Linked DNA regions of Homo sapiens: regions 2 and 3 are each linked to region 1. The links are contacts of gene promoters, found by promoter capture Hi-C in human tissues and cell types (Jung and others, 2019). All regions are on one chromosome and are shown on one strand. Each heading gives the region's core, a stretch centred on a gene start or on the middle of the fragment in contact. The rest is flanking DNA. Distances are from core to core; before and after follow the strand shown.

Region 1 (4,587 bases), core at 431-2,930:
CAAAAGGATACAAAACTACTCATAATCTACAAAAACGATGAATCCTAAGCATGTTACATAGAAGGAAAACAGTTTCAAAGCATAGGGAGCTGTTAGACCAGCTTCATCTTCCCAAGCCTCTTCCAAAACTTCTTGGAAGCTGATATATAACACTAACCTTCCAAAAACACAACAGAAGCAGAAAATCTTAATGGGGCACCAGGAAAAGAGCAAGCCTCGAGAAAAATCAAGACTCCCCCCGACCAACCTTCCCAAATAACACAAACACAAGAGTTAACAGTACAATCCCTCTTTGAGAGGGGACTGAATCAATGTGGCAGGGCCAACCCTACACACACACACACACGCGCGCGCGCGCGCGCGCGCACACACATACACCACACACACAGCTACCGCCCTGCCAGGGGATGATGAAATGAGGAACGGAAATTAACATTTCAGGCAACGTCTCACATTGTTCCTTGAGGCCAAGGGCTGCTGTTGCAGCCGCCACCGCCACCGCTTTCCTCCCAGCCACCCCCCACACCCGCCCGCCTACCCTCCCCCTAACACCCCCCACACGGCTGCCCGCATTCCTGCCCCTCCTCGGCCTACGCGCGCCTCCTGCAACCCCGACGCCCCCAGGTCCCCAGTTCGCCCTCCCCCTCCGGCTCGGAGCCCGAGAGCCGCCTGCTCTCATTTCAAAACAGCGATAATAATAGGGACGCTGAGAATAACAACTACGACCAGCACGGCGAAGGCGCCCCTCTCGCGGGTCAGAGGTCGGCGCCCCAGCTCCGCAGAACCCGGCGCCCGGCCAGCGCCCCCTGGCAGCCCCTCCCGGCAGCCTCAGGTCCCCAAGACCTGCAGGCCCGCCCCGAAGCCCCCCGTCCGCCCCTCACGGCCGCTCCGAGCCCCCGAGGCCCGCCCCGGAGCCCCCTGTCCGCCTCTCACGGCCGCCCCGGGCCCCCACGGCCCCCAGGCCCGCCCCGGAGCCCCCAATCGGCCCCTCAGAGCCGCCGCGGGCCCCCGGCCACCCAGGCCCGCCCGGAGCCCCCGTCCGCCCCTTACGGCCGACCCAAGCTCCGCCGACCTCCCAGGCCCCCCCCGGAGCCCCCTATGGGCCCCTCACGGCCACCCCGGGCCCCCAAAGACCCCCGGCTGCCCCGAACCCGGACCCGTAGGCCCGCTCCGGGACCCATTATTGGTCCCTCACGATCGCCCCGGGCCCCCAAAGACCCCCGCCCACCCGGCCCCGACCCCCCAGGCCCGCCCGGAGGCCCGCGGCGCAGCTCCGTCGCCGGGGAAGGCCTGCAGGCCGCAAGGCCGCGCGAATGCCCCGTGCCCGCCCCGACCACCGCCCCCAGACCAGCGGCGCCTCTCACCGTGCTCCGAGGGCTGCGCGGCTCCGCGACGGCTCAGCGGCGGGGCGCGGGCGCTGCCCATGCAGCCCGCGGCCGCGTTTCCCGGGCCGCGCGGCCCGAGCGGCAAGGCGGCGGCGGCGGCGGCGCGGGCTCGGGCCCGGCAGAGCTGCGAGGGACGGCGGGAGGCGAGCCCGCCCCTCGGGCGCGCCCACGGCTCGGGCGAGAGCCGCGGCTCCCGGTGCGGACGCTACTGATGGGGCGTCTGGCCGCGGGCTCGGCGGCGGCGCCTCCCCGGCTGGGGCCCTCGGTCCATCGCGCACCGTCTCAGGGCGGCCTCTGGCTCCAGGACCCAGCGGCGGCTGCGGCGGGAGCCGGCCGCATGAGACGCTCCCGCCCATTGGCCCGCCGTATCCGCCACCGCCATTGGCCCGCCCCGGCCGGCCGCAGGGGCTGTGCACGTCACAGCGCCGTGAGTTAGTGCGCTAATGGAGTGAAGGAGAGAGGCGGGATTGACAGCCTCTCTGGCGGTCCGGAGGCGGGACTAGGAGGACGTCCCGGTAACGATTGGGCAGGGTCCTGCGTAAGGGCGCATGCGACACTGGAAGTAGCGAGCAACTGGATTGGCTGCCTCCGTCGCAAAGGAGGGTGGGTCTTGCATTCTCGGGCCTGACGATTGGTCTTTCCAAGTGCCGGAAGCAACAGGGATGTCGTCTGGAAACAAAATCTGGTATTGAAGCGCAGGGAGACAAAACGTCCACCTCTAGAGCCGAGGCGGCGGTTGCCTGTCGCGTGCCCGTGGTCTTCTGCCTGCCCCCGGACATCTCGGGCCACGTCCGGCCCGGCCTCCGGCCGCGCTGCCCTAACGGGCGTCACGGGGCATGAAGAGCTCTGGGCGGCTGCGAGGGGAGGGTACCGGGGCAGCGGGGCGGTCGCTCGGGGCTCCCGCGCGGTGACTCTTGCTCTGCCGTCGAAGAGAACGGCCCTCGGGCGCGTCGCGGCCGCGGCTCCAGAGCCCCTGGGCCTCGCGCTCTGAGAGCCTGAGCCGCTTGAGGAGGCCAAGCGCCCACGAACCGCATTCCCTGCCTTGCTAGTTAGTTCTCCAACACGCGAAAAAGGTAGACGAGGACTGGTTTTCTTTGCAGCTAAAATGAATCAAGCCTCTGGTAAGTGTGGATCCTGTTCTAAGTGCACCTGTGTTCTCCTCCAGAACTAAACCAAAAAGCAAGGTGAACAAAATCGGTGCTCCTTCAGTTTCTTCTTTAGTTCTGCATGTTACTGGGGACTAAGACAACGGGTAAGCAAACTATTTATAGGCCTCAATTTACGAAATAACGGAATTGCAAAGTCCGGAGTGGATAGGACCGTGAGGACGGTCTTTTTTCTTGGGCAACACGCATTATGGTCGAGAGATCAGTTGTTAAACCGCCCCTGTTCAAATCCCAGCCCTACCAGTGACTAGCGGTCACCCTGTAGGCTTTGTCTCTCAGATCTTCAGTTTCTTGGTGGGTAAAATGGGAACTACAAGTAGCACCTATTCTTTTTTTTTTTTTTTTTTGAGTCAGGGTCTCACTCTGTCGCCCATGCTGGAGTGCAGTGCTAACTGCAGCCTCAGCTTCCCGGGCTCAGAGGATCCTCCCACCTTAGCCTACTAAGTAGGTGGGACCACAGTCAGGCATCACCACACCCGGCTAATTTTTTAAATTTTCGTAGAGATAGGCTCTCTGTGTGTTTCCCAGGCTGGTCTTGAAATCCTGGACTCAAGCGACCCTCCCTCCTCAGCTTCCCAAAGTGCTGGGATTAGAGGCATGAGCCACGGTGCGGGCCAGGAGCACCTATTTCATAGGCCCATCGGGAAGATTAAATGAAGGGGCTGTGGAGGCTGTAGCACGGTGCTTGGCACGTATGTGAGCTCTGGGGAAACATTAGTTATGCTATAACTGGACCTTCAGCCTTCTCTAGGCAGCCAGATTTCGGGCTCCACCCACAACTAGTCACGCCATTGGATGAGGGGTGAGCGCCTGATAAAAACAGCCGGCGTATGCGCTGATGTGCGTTCACGAAGAGGTGATCCAAGTGTTTCCATATTTGCCTCACTGGACGAAGTATTTGGTAAAATTGACGAAATTCAGAGTCCTGGACCCCATCATCACCTATGGAATTATTCTAGATGAGAGGGGACTAGGCATTGGCATTTTTTTATTTTGGTCCCTTACAATACTCATCATTGGGAAAATTTGAAAAACATCAACCTAAGCCGTCATGCTCGCACTCGAGAATGTTTCCCCTAGGCTGATTGACGGGCAGTGGTATTCACAGGTGCGGTCAGCGCAGTCCAGCTTCAAACTTCCGGGGATCAAGTGATCCTCCCGCCTGAGGAGCTGAGATTACAGGCCTGCACCACCATGCTCATCTATCAGGGGAATTTAAAGTGCAAAATATTAATATGAGTAAGCAGGCAGTTGGCCTTCGAAACAGAATCTGAAAATACACTAAGGTAAAAGCAAACTGAATTTCGACAGAAGTAGAACGTGTATGGTAGAGAAAAGAAATGCAGAGTAAAGGGAAAGGAGCCAGGAAATGCACTAATTAGAAAATCTTGGCCAGGCGCGGTGTCTTATGCCTGTAATCCCAGCACTTTGGGAGGCCGAGGCGGGTGAATCATGAGATCAGGAGTTCGAGACCAGTCTGGCCAATATGGTGAAACCCCATCTCTACTAAAAATATGCAAAAATTAGCTGGGTGTGGTGGTGGCGGGTGCCTGTAGTCCCAGCTGCTCAGGAGGCTGAGGCAGGAGAATCTCTTGAACTCGGGAGGCGGAGGTTGCAGTGAGCCGAGATCGCGCCACTGCGCTCCAGCCTGGGCGACAGAATGAGACTTCGTCTCAAGAAAAAGAGAAAATCTTTGAGGTGAGGTGCAGTGGCTCACGCCTGTAATCCCAGCACTTTGGGAGGCCAAGGCAGGCAGATCACTTGAGGTCAGGAGTTTGAGACCAGCCTGGCCAACATGGTGAAACCCCGTCTCTACTAAAAATACAAAAATTAGCCGGGCGTGGTGGCGTGCGCCTGTAATCCCAGCTACTCCGGAGGCTGAGGCAGGAGAATCACTTGAATCCGGGAGGCAGAGGCTGCAGTGAGCCGAGATCACGCCATTGCACTCCAGCCTGGGCAACAGAGCGAGACTCCATCTCAAAAAAAAAAAGGAGTTGGGATTTTATCCTGAGGAAAAAGGTAAGCCGTCAGAGGGT
Region 2 (5,052 bases), core at 827-3,326, 140 kb before region 1:
AAAGATGGACTACACCATGTAACGGCAAGGACAGAGCAGATGGAATTCCCATTCAACGCTGGTGGGAACACAAAACTGAGTGGTCACTTTGGAAAAGAGTCTGGCAGGTTCTTAACAAGTTAAACATTCATGTAACATGTGACCGAGAAACCCAGACCCAGAAAAGGTACCACATCCAGCCATCTGATGCTTTGCATGCAACTACTCATATCAGCTTGACTCCCAACAGCTAAAACTAGGAAACAACGGACATGTCTATAACTGCTTATTGGATGAACATGCGACATATCTACCCCCTAAAAAGCTACTCAGTAAACTACTGACATACACCACAGAACCCAGATCAATCTCAAAAGGAAGATGAAACACACCAGACACAAGAGTCCACACTCAATGATTCCATTCATATTAAATTCTAGTAAAGCAAAAGCTACAGTGACCGAAAGCACATCAGCATCCTGGGTCCAGGAAATAGGATGACATGCTGCTGCAAAGAGGAAAGGGGGAACTTTCTTGGGGTGATGGAAATACTACTCTGTATCATGACTGTGATGGTGGGAACAAGACAGTTCCAACTGATTCCTTAAAACTCTCACATCTGTAGTCATGAGCAACATGATGCTCATGTTGAGTGTGGTCAACAGGCCACATTCATGATGGTGGTATGTGCTACCATAAGATGCTAATGGAGTGGAACGGGTCCCATGGCATAAACACCTACCACTGTGTTACGATTTCTTTCCACGATTCAGCAGGGTGACTCAGCAACAGGCTCTACCATGTAGCTTAGGTGTGTGGGAGGCTCTGCCTTCTGGATCTGGGTACGCACACTCTGTGATGCTCAGAGGACAAGATCACCTAACAACGCATTTCTCAGGATGCATCCCCCGACCGCTATTAAAATTGATGCATTCCAAAGTATTTAAACTGTACCTCAAAGAAGCTCTCAGAGAGAATGCACGGGAGTGGACGATGGCGGGCACAAGAGCTCGTCAAGAGCACTGTTGTGAAGAAAAGCAGAGAGGCGGCGGCGGCAGCTGGTGGTGGGCATGGGCGAGGGGTTCCACGGCAAAGAATGAAATTGAATGCCCATCACCCCACGCCCACAGGCCGCCAAACACATCTGGAAAAGCAGAATACATTCCTGAAGGGGATGGCATCCATGGCCCTAGGGAAGGAAGACCAGATCCCAACAGGAGCAGGATGAGGCTGTCCTTGATACTGAGCAGGTGGCTGACTTCACCACACACCCTCCACTACCTCCGCAAATCACTCCAGGCATTCATTACCCACTACACCAAATAACTGATTCTCATTTCATAAATATACGTATTCAAAGAGGATCCTAGCGAACTTTTTCAAGAAAACACTGGATACAGACTCTCGGGCAGGTCTGTAAGTTAAGGCATGGAGACGAAGCTTCTCTCTGTGTTTGGCATTGAGGCAATGCTGCTGTGGGCACTGCAGACATAGGCCCTGTGACCTGGGCGCAGGTTCGTGTCATGCCACACAGCATGCAATTCCATGGACACAAAATGACCAGAACAGCAGACTCAGAGAGGACGCAGAGGCTGCAGGGGGAACAAGGAGTGACGATTAAAGGTCCAAGTTTCTTTCTGAGGTGACAGCAATGTTCTAGAACTGACAGTCCTGGTGGTTGAACAGACCCGTGAATACACTAACAACCTTTGAACTGTGCGCTTTATCTGGGTAAGCCTACGGTCTGTCAATCCTCTCAATCAAGCTGGTATTATCTCTTTTTTGGAGACAGTCTCACTCTGTCGCCCAGGATGGAGTGCAGTGGTGCGATCGTGGCTCACTGCAATCTCTGCCTCCCAGGTTCAAGCAATTCTCACGCCTCCGCTGAAATGACAGGCACAAGCCACCAGGCCCAGGTAATTTGTGTAGAGGCGGGGGTTTCAACATGTTGGTCAGATTGGTCTCAAACTCCTGACCTCAAGTGATCCGCCTGCCTCAGCCTCCCAAATGCTGGGATCACAGGCGTGAGCCATTGCACCTGGCCGATTATCTTCTTTGAAAAGCATGAGACACGTTTCCCTAGGGATGGAATGCTGGACACGAGACAAGACTTGTCCTAAGGACTGGATCTCACAGTGGCCAGGTATGCATCACGCCACGCGGTGCAGAGCCCTGGGGGAAGGCAAGTCAAGAAGCCAGGGGTCTAGGCACCGCAATGTCTCAAGGCAGCCCCCCAAGAAAACCAAGCAGAAGGCCACAGTGACGCCCTCCTGCTCTCAGGTCAGTGGCAGGAGGGCACTTGCTGATGCTGGGCACAGAGGAATGTCAGGGCAGATCTTCAAGGCTCACACCCTTCAGAGCTTCTGGCAAGCTCAACACAGTGAGCGAGCCCTGCCCCCAAGAGTGAGGCCCCTGTCAGGGCCACTTCCTCTCGCCCTGGCCCATCCAGATCTCACACACACTGTGGTAGATCTTTGAAGGGTAAAAGCTCTGTCCGCTCCACTCATCAGCACCAAAGTGTTCTGTGCCTGGCCCTTCTCCACCCAATTCACCAGTTTATTGAAGCCTCAGCTGGGTGAGTCCCGCTTGCCTCTGAAAATGTGTGTGCTCAGCCAGGCAGATTCTTGAGTGCGTTTCCTATGTGCTGCTGCCCTCCTTCAAGATGACCACATGGGCCCCCAAGCAGGGCCCCTACCTGCTTTGTCAGCATCTTGTCCTTTCCCTCTTTTCTCTCACGGCTTGTTCTACTTCACGGCATGTTTAAGCAAAGGGGGTCACTACAACAAAATTATTTTAAAACAAACATACTTCAGAAAAGTTTATGGAAAACATTAAACCTTGAATATATTAACTTTACAGGATCCATTTACTTCACCCTAACACTGAGTTAAAATTATAACAAGAGAAAGTAGGGCTGGGCGCGGTGGCTCACGCCTGTAATTAATCCCAGCACTTTGGGAGGCCAAGGCAGGTGGATCATGAGGTCAGGAGTTCAAGACCAGCCTGGCCAATATGGTGAAACCCCGTCTCTACTAAAAATACAAAAATTAGCCGTGCATGGTGGCAGACGCCTATAATCCCAGCTACTCAGGAGGCTGAGGCAGGAGAATTGCTTCAACTCAGGAGGCGGAGGTTGCAGTGAGCCAAGATGGCGCCACTGCACTCCAGCCTGGGTGACAGAGTGAGACTCCAACTCCAAAAAAAAAGAGAGAGAGAGAGAGAGAGAGAAAGTAAACAAAGTTTCTATTTATTTCTCCAGAGGATCTCAAAAGTAGAGCTGGAAATACCAGCAGTAAGAGGAACACCAGTCCAAGGCAACTACAAGGAACTGGTCACTTTTTCATTTTTTTGAGACAGAGTCTTACTGTGTCACCCAGGCTGGAGTACAGTGGTGCAATCTCGGCTCACTGCAACCTCCGCCTTCCGGGTTCAAGCAATTCTCCTGCCTCAGCCTCCCTAGTAGCTGGGATTACAGGCATGCACAACCACGCTTGCCTAATTTCTTTGTATTTTTAGTAGAGACAGGGTTTCATCATGTTGGCCAGGCTGGTTTCGAACTCCTGACCTCAGCTGATCCGCCTGCCTGGGCCTCCCAAAGTGCTGGGATTACAGGCGTGAGCCACTACGCCCGAACTGGTCACATATCTTATGGAACATAATGTTTTTCATGATCAACAGCCACTATGGGAACACAACACACATCAGCCCTGAGACACCCGAAACAAGACAGAGCAGCCTCTGCAGCCTCTCATGCAGGGAGCGTGGGGCATGTCTGCCACAGGGTGAGGGGCGGCGGGCAGAGATGGAGACATAAAGGCGGAGCTGGCTTCCAGCCTTGTGAACCAGCCCAGCTGAATGCCCCAAGTCTGTAAATAATTGATGGGAGCCAGAGCACCCAGCCCTGCAGGGCTCTCGGGAGCTGCCCGCCCAACAGTCCCATGCCTGGCACTCCCTCAGGTGCCGCCTGCAAGGTCACTCCACTGCTTCTAAATAATGCACTGCACAGATGGAGGAAAGTATACCTTTACCCATTCAAATCTTCCAAGGCACGCATTTTCACAAATTTTACATATATATAACTAAATTTTGCATTCAGCCAAAAAAAAAAAAAAAAAGAAAACTTCATGTTGAAACACTGTATCTCACCCTAGAATTTGAAAAGCCTCCTTTTCCTTCTCACTGTCAATCTTTTTTGAAGTCTCAAAAATGATTTTACTAACATTAGACAAATACCCAAATATAAAAAGTGCTTGACACAGTCAACACTGCAGCAGTGAGGTCCACTATGCCAGCGCAGTGCAGAGCCAGCCCACCTCCCTGCACCAGTGGAAATGTCACAGAGGGCAGAGGGCAGCGTGCCCAGCACCTGCTCTTGATAGGGAGGGCACTTCTAGGCTGGAATACTCAAGAGATTTGATTGTGTGTCATCAAAGCATGCTTTAAATACAAAAGCTGGCAGGGCACGGTGGCTCACTCTTGTAATCCCAGCACTTTGGGAGGCCGAGGCAGGTGAATCACCTGAAGTCAGGAGTTCAAGACCAGCCTGGCTAACACGGTGAAACCACGTCTCTACTAAAAATACAGAAATTAGCCGGGCATGGTGGCGAGCACCTGTAATCCCAGCTACTCATAAGGGAGGCTGAGGCAGGAGAAATCGCTTGAACCCAGGAGGCGGAGGTTGCAGTGAGCCGAGATCACACCTCTGCACTCCAGCCTGGGAGACAGAGTGAGACACTCTCAAACAAACAAAGGCTGTGAGTGGCCTGGAAGCTCGTTCTTCTAGCTCCTTTGGCAAAGAAAATGCCCCCAAAGGAGTGAGGGCAACAGACTTTCCAAGTCCCAGGAAATGCACAGATTCACATGCTGAAGACCCACCAGATGCAGGAAGGAAACGCCAGAACAACATGTTTGCTTTCATCTAAAAACATCAGAAAAAGTCTAAATGTTGCTGACATTTCCTGGGCAGCTGCCCTGTGGTCTCCCGTCTGGCCAAGGAGCCTCAACCCAGTTGCTCCCAACATACTCCCATCCCAGGCGAACCTATGCTGGTGATGCTCGGGAGGCGGGCAGAGG
Region 3 (3,761 bases), core at 42-2,541, 200 kb after region 1:
TTTTTTCTTCCCGTCACTGAGGTGAGAAGAGGTGAAAGCTTCCTTTCACCTGGAAGTCACACGGTCCCTTCAGCTCACATTCCAAGGCCAGATGCCACTGGGTAGCGTTTCATAACTTCCAGGAGGTAGTGATACAGGGATGCTGGGACAGCAGCCTCTGCCACAGATGTATTTTTGTATGTGGGATTGAAAGGGAGTATCTGAGTGGCCGCCTCTGATATTTCTTTCAAAGCATTGGCCCAGTATCGTCACCACCTTTTCTCATCAGAAAAGCCCAAGAGGCCGGGTACGGTGGCTCACGCTTGTAATCCCAGCACTTTGGGAGGCCAAGGCGGGCAGATCACTTGAGGTCAGGAGCTCAAGACCAGCCTGGCCAACATGGTGAAACCCAGTCTCTACTAAAAATAGAAAATTAGGCGGTTGTGGTGGCACCTGCCTGTAATCCCAGCTACTCAGGAGGCTGAGGCCGGAGAATCACTTGAACCCAGGAGGCGGAGGTTGCAGTGAACCATGTTCTTGCCACTGCACTCCAGCCTGGGCAACAGAGCGAGACTCAGTCTCAAAAAAAGAAAAAAAAAGCCCAAACGTGTGGTTGCCTTTCTGTTTGGTGAGCAAGACGTGAGTGGGCTCCCTGGTACAAATTCCATTTGAAATTTCCTCAGTTGTTCCATCAGCTGCCAAATTTCCACACTGGCAACACCCTTCTGTTTCAGCTGGGACGATGCCGGAGTGTGAAGGAGTTTGAGAAGCTGAACCGCATTGGAGAGGGTACCTACGGCATTGTGTGTGAGTGGCCAAGGCTAGGACATGTGGCCGCAGCTCGTGGCTGTGACAGTGTGGGACGAGACTGTCGAAGCAGCAGCCGCGTTGGGGCTGGAAGGGACTCAGACCCTGTGCTCTGAAACAGGGCAGAAACCTGTTCAGGAACTTCAATTCCTGATGTAGTTATCACAAACATTGTACCATTTCTGGGTAAACGTAAGCATCCGGTTGCTAATGCCCATAATCCAAACGTGTCACTGCAGAGTACACAGAACTGTTAGAGAAATAAAATACAGAACTTTCCAGAAGCAGCAGGAGCTGGACATGGTGCTCATGTCTATCACCTCAGCAACTCTGGAGGAGTCACCTGAGCCCAGGTGTTTTTTCTTTTTGTTTGTTTTTGAGATGGGTCTTGCTCTATTGCCCAGACTGGAGTGCAGTGGCATGATCATAGCTCACTGCGGCCTCGACCTCCTAGGCTCAAGTGATCCTCCCACCTCAGCCTCCTGAGTATCTGGGACCACAAGAGTACATAAGCACACCCAGCTAATTTTTAAATTTTTGGTAGAGATGGGATCTCCCTATGTTGCCCAGGCTGGTCTTGAACTTCTGGGCTCAAATGATCCTCCTGCCTCGGCCTCCCAAAGCACTGGGATTACAGGTGTGAGCCACTGCACCCGGCCAAGCCTAGGAGTTTGAGGCTGCAGTGAGCTGTGATCACGCCACTGCACCCCAGCCTTGGCAACAGAGTGAGACCCTGTCTCAAAAAAACCAAAAACACCACACACAACTAAAGGTTATAACAGATGTGAAATTGGCGTAGGTCATTCTGGAAGCTGCACACATTAGCAGGATGTTTTGTAGAGCCATCTTCACACAAAATAAGGTTTGCTTTTTTCTGCATAGAGTACCTTATTTGCTTTTAGGACATTACAAGAGAGCACAAAGCAGTGATCTGCATGCTAAGGAGGACATGGAGAGCCTGGAGCCACAGAACTGAGTGGCTGGAGGCCAGGGTCCAGCACAGAGCAAAGTTGGGCACCCCCTGCCCAGTTCAAATGAGGAAACCCTCCGGGGGAACGCGTCTCGGGCTAGGGGCGTTGCACAGAGTGGGGACTGAGTGTCACTGGGCATGAGGTTGTCAGAGGAAAGAACGGGGACCCCTGTGGCTCAGGGAGAGCCTCCCGTTCAGCGCTAGGGAGCCCACGAGGGGCATCGAGATGATGTCATCACCAATGTGTTTCCATTCCAGATCGGGCCCGGGACACCCAGACAGATGAGATTGTCGCACTGAAGAAGGTGCGGATGGACAAGGAGAAGGATGGTGAGCAGGAAATTGGGGTGTTGGGACCTCGCACTGGGAGGAGGCAGAAGGATGTGAGTTACCTGAAGTTTCCTCAGAGCGACTGCACGGTGCTTGTAGCGGGGGCCGGCCTCTGGGAGGGTTCTGGTGTGGCCCAGCACATCACCCCCAGGTCCACACGCAGCCTCAGCTGTCTGCCAGGAGGGCTCTGCAGTCTCCATCCCCTCCTCCCCCTCCTGTCTGGTGAGGCCACCTCACTGCAGGCTCAGCTCTGCTGTCCCCTCCACCCCCAGCACCTGCCTGTGCAGGCAGGGCCCTGCCATGCCCCACATAGATGTCCACGGTGTTTAGAGAGGTGCCGATTCGTATTTGGTCAAGGAAGAGTTAAAAGTGCTTATTGGGCCGGGCATGGTGGCTCATGCCTGTAATCCCAGCACTTTGGGAGGCCGAGGCAGGCGGATCACCTGAGGTCGGCAGTTCAAGACCAGCCTGACCAACATGGAGAAACCCCATCTCTACTAAAAATACAAAATTAGCCAGGCGTGGTGGCACATGCCTGTAATCCCAGCTACTAGGGAGGCTGAGGCAGGAGAATTGCTTGAACCCGGGAGGCAGAGGTTGCGGTGAGCCGAGATGGTGCCATTGCACTCCAGCCTGGGCAACGAGCGAAACTCCGTCTCAAAAAAAAAAAAATGCTTATTGGGGTCGCCCCAATTCTCCCTGAGGTGGGGACACTGCAGCACCTGCTATCAGGTGTTCGTGAAGCCCAAGAGTGGCTGGGGTTGGGGCTTCCCCGCCATCACTGGGGTGGGGCTCGCTGAGGCCACCTCCCTCCCCAGGCATCCCCATCAGCAGCTTGCGGGAGATCACGCTGCTGCTCCGCCTGCGTCATCCGAACATCGTGGAGCTGAAGGAGGTGGTTGTGGGGAACCACCTGGAGAGGTACGTGGTCTCCTGGTCTGCACATTGGGCCCTAGGGAGCATGTGTCTTGGGCTAGAGGTGTTGCACAGAGCGAGGACTGAGTGTCACTGGGCATGAGGTTGTCAGAGAAGAGATGACCCCACCTCACCGCCTGGCTCAGCCCATTGTCTGAGGGGGACACAGGTTGTCCTGCCCATGTCCCCTCCTGCAGCAGGGGAGGCTCCACTTCCACCCCTTAGGAGAAGGCCGGAGAGTGGCATGCATCTTCTGTTTCTTCCAGCATCTTCCTGGTGATGGGTTACTGTGAGCAGGACCTGGCCAGCCTCCTGGAGAATATGCCAACACCCTTCTCGGAGGCTCAGGTGCGTGGCAGAGGGGCCTGGGGTGGGGGAATGGGCTTCATGGGCCCTTGTGGTGCACATTTATAACGAAACAGGGCACTTGGGGACTTGAAGAGCTGCTGCTGCCTCTGCCTCCACCTCCCAGTGTTTCAGCGAGCTTCAGTGAGGTGGAATTCCTGTGGTGGGGGCATCTGCTGGGAGCGGGCAGCCCCAGGGCCGAGAGCCTTATGAGGGCACTGGTTTCCTGGGCTGTTGGGAGCAGGCAGCCCCGGGGCTGAGAGCCTTCTGAGGGCACTGGTTTCCTGGGCTGCTGGGAGCGGGGAGCCCTGGGCGGAGAGCCTTCTGAGGGCACTGGTTTTCTGGGCTGCTGGGAGAGTGCAGCCCCGGGGCCAAGAGCCTTGTGAGGGCACTGGTTTCCTGGGCTGCTGGGAGC

The links. Contacts are between HindIII fragments. The study calls those that stand out against the background at their distance.
Region 2: a contact is called between a fragment that was not itself captured here and the fragment with the promoter of ANKRD11 in region 1, in 6 of the 25 tissues and cell types used here (H1 embryonic stem cells, IMR-90 fibroblasts, dorsolateral prefrontal cortex and 3 more).
Region 3: a contact is called between a fragment that was not itself captured here and the fragment with the promoter of ANKRD11 in region 1, in 1 of the 25 tissues and cell types used here (lymphoblastoid cells).

What each region holds. Positions count from the first base shown.
Region 1 is chr16:89,488,881-89,493,467 of GRCh38, forward strand. ANKRD11 (ankyrin repeat domain containing 11) reads right to left here and starts at 1,681. Exons shown (of 13, transcript NM_013275.6): 1 at 1,365-1,681. LOC101930112 (a long non-coding RNA gene) reads left to right here and starts at 2,090. Exons shown (of 2, transcript XR_933895.4): 1 at 2,090-2,506. It overlaps LOC101927863 (a long non-coding RNA gene), which reads right to left. Exons shown (of 5, transcript NR_188547.1): 5 at 3,523-3,753. RefSeq lists enhancers at 227-740, 741-1,255 and silencers at 537-606, 647-756, 837-886, 1,461-1,940, 2,141-2,230 and 1 more. The HindIII fragment of the contact is 15,043 bases long and covers 1-4,587 here.
Region 2 is chr16:89,350,167-89,355,218 of GRCh38, forward strand. All of the region lies in intron 2 of ANKRD11 (ankyrin repeat domain containing 11), which reads right to left. The region is part of intron 1 of LOC128462377; the gene reads right to left. Among named protein-coding and RNA genes, the nearest start is that of ZNF778, 130 kb to the left of the region's middle. The HindIII fragment of the contact is 8,829 bases long and covers 1-5,052 here.
Region 3 is chr16:89,688,539-89,692,299 of GRCh38, forward strand. CDK10 (cyclin dependent kinase 10) reads left to right here. Exons shown (of 13, transcript NM_052988.5): 2 at 714-786; 3 at 2,015-2,086; 4 at 2,905-3,007; 5 at 3,268-3,349. Among named protein-coding and RNA genes, the nearest start is that of LINC02166, 3.5 kb to the left of the region's middle. The HindIII fragment of the contact is 5,257 bases long and covers 1-3,761 here.